Linked DNA regions of Homo sapiens: all the other regions are linked to region 2. Evidence: promoter capture Hi-C in human tissues and cell types (Jung and others, 2019). All regions are on one chromosome and are shown on one strand. The core of a region is centred on a gene start or on the middle of the fragment in contact, and the rest is flanking DNA. Distances in the headings are between cores, read along the strand shown.

What was found. Contacts are between HindIII fragments. The study calls those that stand out against the background at their distance.
Region 1: a contact is called between a fragment that was not itself captured here and the fragment with the promoter of FOXB2 in region 2, in 9 of the 25 tissues and cell types used here (H1 embryonic stem cells, adrenal gland, bladder and 6 more).
Region 3: a contact is called between a fragment that was not itself captured here and the fragment with the promoter of FOXB2 in region 2, in 8 of the 25 tissues and cell types used here (bladder, dorsolateral prefrontal cortex, lymphoblastoid cells and 5 more).

Annotation. Positions count from the first base shown.
Region 1 is chr9:77,129,840-77,132,684 of GRCh38, reverse strand. No RefSeq gene overlaps it. Among named protein-coding and RNA genes, the nearest start is that of VPS13A, 46 kb to the left of the region's middle. RefSeq lists an enhancer at 2,792-2,845. The HindIII fragment of the contact is 3,942 bases long and covers 1-2,845 here.
Region 2 is chr9:77,018,219-77,020,976 of GRCh38, reverse strand. It overlaps FOXB2 (forkhead box B2), which reads right to left and starts at 1,322. Exons shown (of 1, transcript NM_001013735.1): 1 at 24-1,322. The coding sequence starts at 1,322. The coding sequence ends at 24. The HindIII fragment of the contact is 6,747 bases long and covers 1-2,758 here.
Region 3 is chr9:76,898,179-76,900,957 of GRCh38, reverse strand. All of the region lies in intron 1 of PRUNE2 (prune homolog 2 with BCH domain), which reads left to right. Among named protein-coding and RNA genes, the nearest start is that of PRUNE2, 6.5 kb to the left of the region's middle. RefSeq lists an enhancer at 2,408-2,779. The HindIII fragment of the contact is 7,777 bases long and covers 1-2,779 here.

The sequences.
Region 1 (2,845 bases), core at 25-2,524, 110 kb before region 2:
CCATGATCCAATCACTTCCCACCAGGTCCCTCTTTAACATGTGGGGATTACAATTCAAGATGAGATTTGGGTGGGGACACAGAGCCAAACCATATCACAGACATTTTCCAGAACTTTAATTTTCCTACTAACCATATGATTTAGTAAACAATGCGTGTTACGGATTAAATAATTGAGCTCTTAACACATTTCTTTCCACCAAACAAAAATCTCAATTTCAATCAGTAAATCTGCCAGGCAGGTGGAAAAATCTTGTTATTCATGTTGATGGGATCAACACTTATGGAATATATCTCCAAACCTCAGTGGCCTATTCACTCACTTGAAAGGACCACACACCACTGGCCATTGGTCATAGAACATTTTTCCTGCCTGGCATATTTTCTTCCTTTCACAACTCAGCTTAAATGTCCTTCCCTCAGAGAAACCTTGCCTGACCTTTACCTATTCCCAAGCCTAACATACATTGTTCCTGCTAGACTCTGTCAAAGTACTTTGCTCTTTCCTTAATAGCATTGAACGTAACTGGTAATCATACACGTATCTGTTTAGCACAATGTCTGAAACGTGTTAGACACACAATAAAGACGTGAATGTATAAAACATGAATTTTTTTGGGTTCTAACATTGTACAATTTTATGAAATGTGAAATTTCAAGGAAGCTATAGATATTTTCATATCTCATAATTCATGATGTTTCTATAAACACTGCAACAAAAACATACCTGTCTGGACAAAACTCGGCTTTCCTTATTCATTTCCACCTATGTTCTTGGGAAAACAAAATATCTTCTACATCCCGGACTCTTATCCTACTGACTCCACAGCAAGTTTTCTCCATTTTGAACTTTCCATAAGTCTTACCTTATTACTCAGATTGAAGAAAGAGTAAGAGAAACCAATTAATATATCCAGAGCTCTGCTCCAGTGTGTAGGTACACGTTAGATGTCTTTTTTATTTTTATCATTACAACAGACTTTATGACTGCAATAAAAATGTGAGTAGATTCTTCAAAGATAAACATCTGAAAGAGAGAGGGGGGTTACATTCTAATAGCCTGTGGCTGCTGTCAGAAATAATTTAATGCTTAGTGCTTCGTCGGCTGACCCAAGTCCTTTGAAGAAGTGAAGCATGCTACTTACACCATCGTGGCTGCCCAGAATCCACTTATTTATGTGAGGTGCTCTGTAGTGCTGCTCAATGAAGGCAAGAAGCCTGAACTTGGTAATTGAGAATGAATGTCAAGTAGTGTCAAGACGCCTCAATTCATCAGGCTGATAACTCCTTCTGTGATTGCATTTCCATTTTTACAGCTGCTTCAGTGGCCAAGTTTGCCAGTCTTGTTTGGGAAAGTATATATATTACAGAACTCTTGGCACTGCCTGAGAAGAAGTTAGTATTTTTGATTCATTTCTAAGAGTTGTGGAATTTTCCAACTATTATAGAGGAAAATTTTATACAATTTATAAAGAGGTAGAAAGAAAGGAAGGGACATCTTTTAAAAGACAAGAAATAAGAGGAAGACAGCACTTAACTTATCTTTGCACTATTATTCTAGTAATGACAAATTTTAAGTTATTCACATTGGTGATATGTTTCTTTGGGAGGAAGAAACTTTTTTAAATGATGTGAAAATATACAAAGGACTAAACAATGGTGAGGAATAAATTAAATTACTAAAATGTTTTGCAACTATAGCTGCTTAAATTTAATAACATATACATTGTCCTTAGCACAGAGTCGAACCCAGGGATCAGTAACTTTTTCTGTAAAGAGCCAGATAGTAAATTATTTAAGGCTTTGCAGCCCAGATGGTTTCTGTTAAAAGTACTTTACTTACTCTACTCTGGCATTGTGCAAAAGAAGCCATAGACTATGTATAATTGAATGAGTGTGGCTGTGTCCCAGCAAAGCTTTATATATGGATACTGAAATTTGAATTTTTAAATATTTTATGTGTCATGAGTATTACTTTTCTTTTGATTCATTTAACTATTTAAAACTGGAAAAATCTGATACAATTTGGATATTTGTCCCCACCCAAATCTCATGTTGAAATGTAGTCCCCAGTGTTGGAGGTGAAGCCTGGTGGGAGGTGATTGGATCATGGGGGCAGAACCTTCATGAATGGTGTAGCACCATTTCCCTAGTGCTGTTCTCATGATAGTGAGTGAAATCTTGAAAGATCTGGTTGTTTAAAAGTGTGTGGCATCTCTTCCTTTACTGTCTCTCTCTTGCTCCTTCTTCTGCCATGTGACATGCCTGCTCCCCTTTGCCTTCTGCCATTTTTATAAGCTTCTTGAGGCCTCCCGAGAAGCTGAACAGATGTCAGCCTCATGCTTCCTGTAAAACTTGCAGAACAATGAGCCAATTAAACCTCTTTTTAAAAATAAACTACCTGGTCTCAGGTATGTCTTTATAGCAATGCAGGAACAGCCTAATACAGAAAATTGATACTGAGAGTGGGGTATTGCCATAAAGATACCTGAAAATTTGGAAGCAGCTTTGGAACTGGGTAATGGGTAGAGGTTGGAAGTGTTTGAGGGCTCAGAAGAAGACAGGAAGATGAGGGAAAGTTTGGAACTTCCTAGAGACTGGTTAAATGATTGTGACCAAAATGCTGATAGTAATATGGATAGTGAAGTTCAGGCTGAGGAGGTCTCGGATGAAAATGAGAAACTTGCTGGGTGTGGTGGCTCATACCTGTAATCCCAGCACTTTGGGAGGCCAAGGTGAGTGGATCACCTGAGGTCAGGAGTTCGCGACCAGCCTAGCCAACATAGGGAAACCCCATCTATACTAAAAATACAAAATTAGCTGAGTGTCATGGCTTGTGCCTGTAA
Region 2 (2,758 bases), core at 73-2,572:
TCTCCCCACGCCCGCCGGGTCCCCTAGGAGTGCACTAGCACCGAGTGCAAGGAGCCGCCCTTGCTTTCGGCCGAGGTAGGGGCTGTGGGCTCCAGCAGAGAGGCAACGGGCGAGGCCGCGGCCGCGGAGCACACGGTGGATGGCGCCGGAGGCTGCTGCGAAGCCGCGGGGACAGTGAGCCCCGGCTGCAGCGCGGACACGGGCGGCAGCGCAGGCGTGGGCTTGATGGGCACCGGCATGGCAGGCAGGCTCTGGCTTGCCGAGTGGCACAGGGACTTGACCGGGACCCCGAAGGCCCCATACTCCGGGCCTACAGGGACTCCGGCTGCGGCTGCGGCGGCCGCGGCGGCGGCCACCGAATCCATGACGCCAACGTGCGGCCACACGGAGCTGACGACGTTGCCAAGCTGGCCGGGCACGGGGTAGCCCAGGTGGTGCATGACGGACGCCAAGGGCAGCCCTCCAGCCTGCAGCACGCCCTTGTAGTCCCGGCCAATAATGTTCTCAATGGCAAAGGGGTGCTTGAAGCCTGACGTGGACGCCGCGGCCGCGGCGGCAGCGGCGGCGGCCGAGCCCAGCCCGTAGGGTGGGAACTGAGACAGGCGTCCCACGCTGCCCACCGCGGCTGCCGCGGCCGCCGCCGCCGCCGCCGCCACGGCCGCCGCCTCCTGCATCTTGCCGGGGTGAGACGGCTGCTGAGGCTGCGACTGCTGGGGCGGTTGCTGCGGGGGCTGTGACGGGAGGTGCGGAGGCGGCTGCGGAGCAGTAGGCGGTTGCTGATGGAAATAGTGTACCATGTGCGGCGGCGGCGGGGGCGGCGGCGGCGGCGGCTGGGGTGGGTGGTGGTGATGGTGGTGGTGTGCGGCAGCGTGGTGATGATGGTGGTGGTGGGGGTGGTGGTGGTGATGGGGGTGAAGGTGCCCTCCCGGACCGGCGCCCGGCGCGCTCTTGGTGCTTCCCGCGTGCAAGTGAGTATGGTCGGCGCGCAGCACCTTGAAGCGCTTGCGACGCCGCAGGAAGCTGCCGTTCTCGAACATGTCCCCGCAGTCGGGGTGCAGCGCCCAGAAGCTACCCTTGCCAGGCTGGTCGGGCCTCCGCGGAATCTTGATGAAGCAGTCGTTGAAGGAGAGGTTGTGGCGCAGGCTGTTCTGCCAGCGCTGTGTGTGCTCGCGGTAGTAGGGGAAGCGCTCCATGATGAACTTGTAGATGTCGCTCAGCGGCAGCATCTTCTCGGCCGAGTGCTGGATTGCCATGGCGGTCAGCGAGATGTAAGAGTAGGGCGGTTTTTGGTCGCTGTACGAGCTCTTCCCCGGCCGCGGCATCGCCCCCGGCTCCTCCACCGCCCTCCGGCCCGCACTGGACCACAGAATCTCTCCGCACTCCGTTCCTGGGGCCTGGCTGCCCCCACTAATTCCCACTCGGCCCCTCCAGTCCCGCCACTTTGCCCTCTCGCCCTCCAGGCCCTCTCTGCTTCTCTCTCCTGCCTTCTCCGAATTGCCTGGTGTCTCCGACCTTGGCCTTTCGGGCCTACTCAGCTCTCGGAAGCTGGCAACTTCTGGCCCCGACGGTTGCCGACTGGCGCGCACAGTCGCGGGCGGAGTGCACCAGGTTTACCGCCGCCTTCTCTGCGTCTTCCCCCGGGTGGCCAAAGACTGAGTGCTGGAGCTGGCTGCAGAGGAGAGTGGCAAGGGGCCGTGTTTCCTCCCGGCCTCTTTGCTTTTTCTAGGTCCGAGGGAAACCCAGACCAAGATGGCTGGGAGGAAGGTCTGGGCAGTAGAGACTCTGGCCCTTTAAATCTGAGTTTGCGCCTGCTGTCCTGGAGGCCAGTGACAGCAGGACTTCCAGTGCCCTGGACGCAGGCCCCTGGCCAGGCACTTAGCCAGACCGCGCTGGAGTTCTCCTTTTCCTGGAGTGAAAAATCAGGGTAAGGAGAGAGAAGATTGGCTTCTAGGGCGCCTCTCTTTTCTCCGAGGCTCGCAGCGTCGCCGGGGTTAGAAGAGACGCGCAGCCCTAGGCTGTCGCTGAGGAGAAAAAACTTTGGTGGTTTCTGAAGCGGCAGCGCCCGCAGGTTCTGCTGAGGAGTGTGGGGCGCAGGACTCTGGGAGCGAGCGGCGGGCTGGAGAGGGCGTCTGCGAATGCTGGGTGAGTGCTGGCCGGGGAGGCTCAGCCGTCCGCGCCGCAGCTGCCGCCTTTCTCCCGGGCTTGTCTTGAGGAGGAGAGGCGACGGCAGTGGCAGCGACGCGCTCTCCTGGCTGCGTTTTGTAATGGTCCCCGAGACGCCGAGACCCCCGCAGCTAGCGCTTCGAGACTATCACATGACCGAGGCTGAGGGACTCAGCCGCCGCCGCCGCGTCTGTAGCTGAAGAAGGGGCAAGAAGGCGCCGTGCCTCGCCCCCGCCCCCTTTTCCACCTCGTTTCGGGCGCTCTCCACCCATCGCGTTCACCACTCGCTCGGCAGCCCCCAGCCACCTCCCGGTGCGGCGGGTGGCGCAGGCTGTTCGCCGGGAGGGGGCACAGCTCCGGGTGCATTTCCCGCAGCTGCGCCCCACCCGGGCCACCAAGCACGGTGGAGGGGGAACAGGACACTGCCTTCTTGCTTCTCTTCTCTCTGGCATCTCCCTCTTCCGCCCCCTTCCTTTTACCCTTCCCTGTTTTCATCTACTCGCTGTGAGCTTCTCTCTCCTTACAAACCCTTTTTCCTGGGCTAGACACTCTGGGTCAAGTTCAGAGTATCGTGTCCTCAAGGCCTCTTCTCTGC
Region 3 (2,779 bases), core at 253-2,752, 120 kb after region 2:
TGGTATAACCAGTTTGTTTCTGTGTAACATTTATTTGGGCAGATATTAACATAATTTTGAGTTTGGTAAACTGGTCTGGGGAGCTCCTGTAAGCAATGGCTTGGTGATGGAGGCATTATTCCTCCAGGGAGGGGGTAGAGGGAACCTACCCCTCCGTGAATGTTACCTGAGCAGTGAGAAGAATGAGGGAAGAATACTTGGATCTGGATAAAGGCTGCAAAAGAGGAAACAATATCAGGGGACCAGAGAGAGGGGATGCAACGTTAGTTACTGATTTTTCTTGAACCTTGGGGATTATGGGAGAGTCCTGGAGTTTGAAGTCTTCTTGAAAGGAAACTGGGGAGGGCTGATGTATTCAGGAGGCAGCATTCCTATGGACGGTGATATGAACAGTGCCCTCTGAGTTTGTATAGTACACAACCTGCACAGTCATTCGTGGCTACCCTGTTAGGGGTCTCAAATTAGCGTACTCAAAATCTCTAGCGTTGTCCCAAATCCATTTCTTTCTGAGCCCTGTGGCTTTGGACTTTGGTTTCCAGGGAAAGGAAGTCTTTCTTCTTCAGAGCTCTTATGAGACTAGTGGGCTCTAGATCACCCTGGAAAATCAGACCCACAAAGTTTGGGTTAGAATAATCAAGCTGATAAACACAGCTTTGGTTTCTTAATCTGAAAAATGGAATAAGTGATGCCTACTTTGCATGTTTGTTGCAAAGCCAAAATGATGTATTCATAGCCCTTAGCACAGAACCTGGAACAATGGTGGGTCTTTCCACTTGCCTCCAAGCCCGTCCTCTTCTGTACTTCCTTGTCTTAGTGAATGGCATTGTGATTCATCCAGTTTCTCCAGCTGAAAACTTCCTTTTCCTTCATCTCTTCCCTAACCCACCCTATCCTTAAGTCACCCAGATGACCACAATGGCTGGCAAACTGCTTTCACCCTGCTTCCAGGGAGATCATTTTGAGAGCATCTTTCACACCTTTCCTACCCCTCCCTTAAAACCTCCTCATCACTTTCCATTGTTCTTAGGAGAATGGACACACTTTTCGTATGACCTGATCTGCTATCCAGCTTCTTTCTGGCTTTTCCTCCAGCTCTCCTTGGCTTAAATAATTCCTGCCTCTTAGGTTAGACAAAGAAAAGACTCTTCTAAGTGAGCCCCCTCACCTGCTTCTTGAGTCTAAGTCAGGTATTTTGGTAATTCTTTAGATCACTTATTTCCGCTTGTCATTATATCTCTATTGGGCATGTTTGTTCGATTAATGCCAGTTTGGTGAGAGTAGGGACCAGGGTCTGTATCATTTTGCTCACCATTGTATCTCCCGGTTCTGGTGCAGTACCTGATGCTCAAAGAGTGGTTTTAGAATTAATAAACCCTAAAGGCAAGAGTCCTGCACAAAGCATGACACTTTGTAGTGGCTCAATAAAAATAAATAAACGGAGGGCCAGGTTTAGATTTTTGGAGGTCTGAATCTGAAGAAAGGCTATTGTCAGGAGGCAGGAAGCCATATTTGTTTGCTAGAAGAAGGTGAAGGACACTAAAGTCAAGGAGCACCATATTGTACTTCATACACAGTAAGTACTTAATACAAAGTGTTAAGACAAAATAAAAATCTAATTTTTATGCATGACTGCTTGGGATCTATAAATATTGGTTGAACTAAAGCATGAATGGAGAGAGGCAGAGGAGAGGAATGGGGCACTAAAAGCCTCTGCAAAACTGCATTGGGTAGATCAGCCAACAGTGGAACCATTGGAACCGTAGGTTCTCCTCCATGTGGCTCAAAGACTAGAAGTTGGGCTCCCCCAAGGCCAACCACTGTACCAAGTCAGCCCAGCCTAGTCTCTTGCTGCCCCTTGACCAGTGCTAATATCATGAGAGAGATTGGCAGGGAAGCTGTTCAGAGTCCTTGAGAGAAAAGATTAGGCATTCCAGACTTCCTGTCCAGCCCTGGCACTGCAGACCTCATGTGTGGGGTAAACCCATGCATGATCCTGAGTCAGACCTCTCGTCCAACTAGTGGGACTGTTTGTGGTGGAGCGTGATCATGGTCTTCCACTTCATCTAACTCTCCTGGATGTGACCAGACCTTCCCAGGTTATTTGTTTTAGCCTGTAATGCCAGAGTCTTTTTGAACTGATGATGTCTAGGAAAATTGCATATCTTTGGCTCCATGCATTTGATATTTCTTGCTTTGGCTTCCCAGAAGCTTAAAGCTATGTTGGTGCTTCATTTTCTTAGCCTAGGATTTCCGAACTAAGGTTTTTTTTGTTTTGTTTTTTTAATTGTTACTACTTAGTTTTAATCTCATTATAGTTGTTTTAATTTTTTTACTTTAATGTATATGCACTTTTATTATAAGTAGGTTATCCTTTTGGTTACTGTCAAGAATAAATAAATACATCTTATAATAATATATATGATCTTGAGTATATATTGGTGACCAGTCTGGCCTAATTCAGGGTTCATCTACTCAAATTTGAGAATTAGCTTTTTGTAGTAATGGAGAATATAGTGTGGGACTTCAGAATAAGTAGCTGAAAGGAAACATCAACACAGTCCAAAGATTGTCTGTGTTCCCATCCTTGATGATTGCTGACCTCCCTGAGAGCAGCAATAGCCACACTTCCTTATATCTGAGCCCATAAATGGGGAACTGTGAGGCAGTCCCTGGCAGAGGCTGCCTGCCCTAAATCAGATCCTGGGAGATTTTCCTAGAGTATGAGTTGTGGATTTAGGAGACCCTTAGAAGGACTTTTGTCCTCCTTCCCACTTCTTGC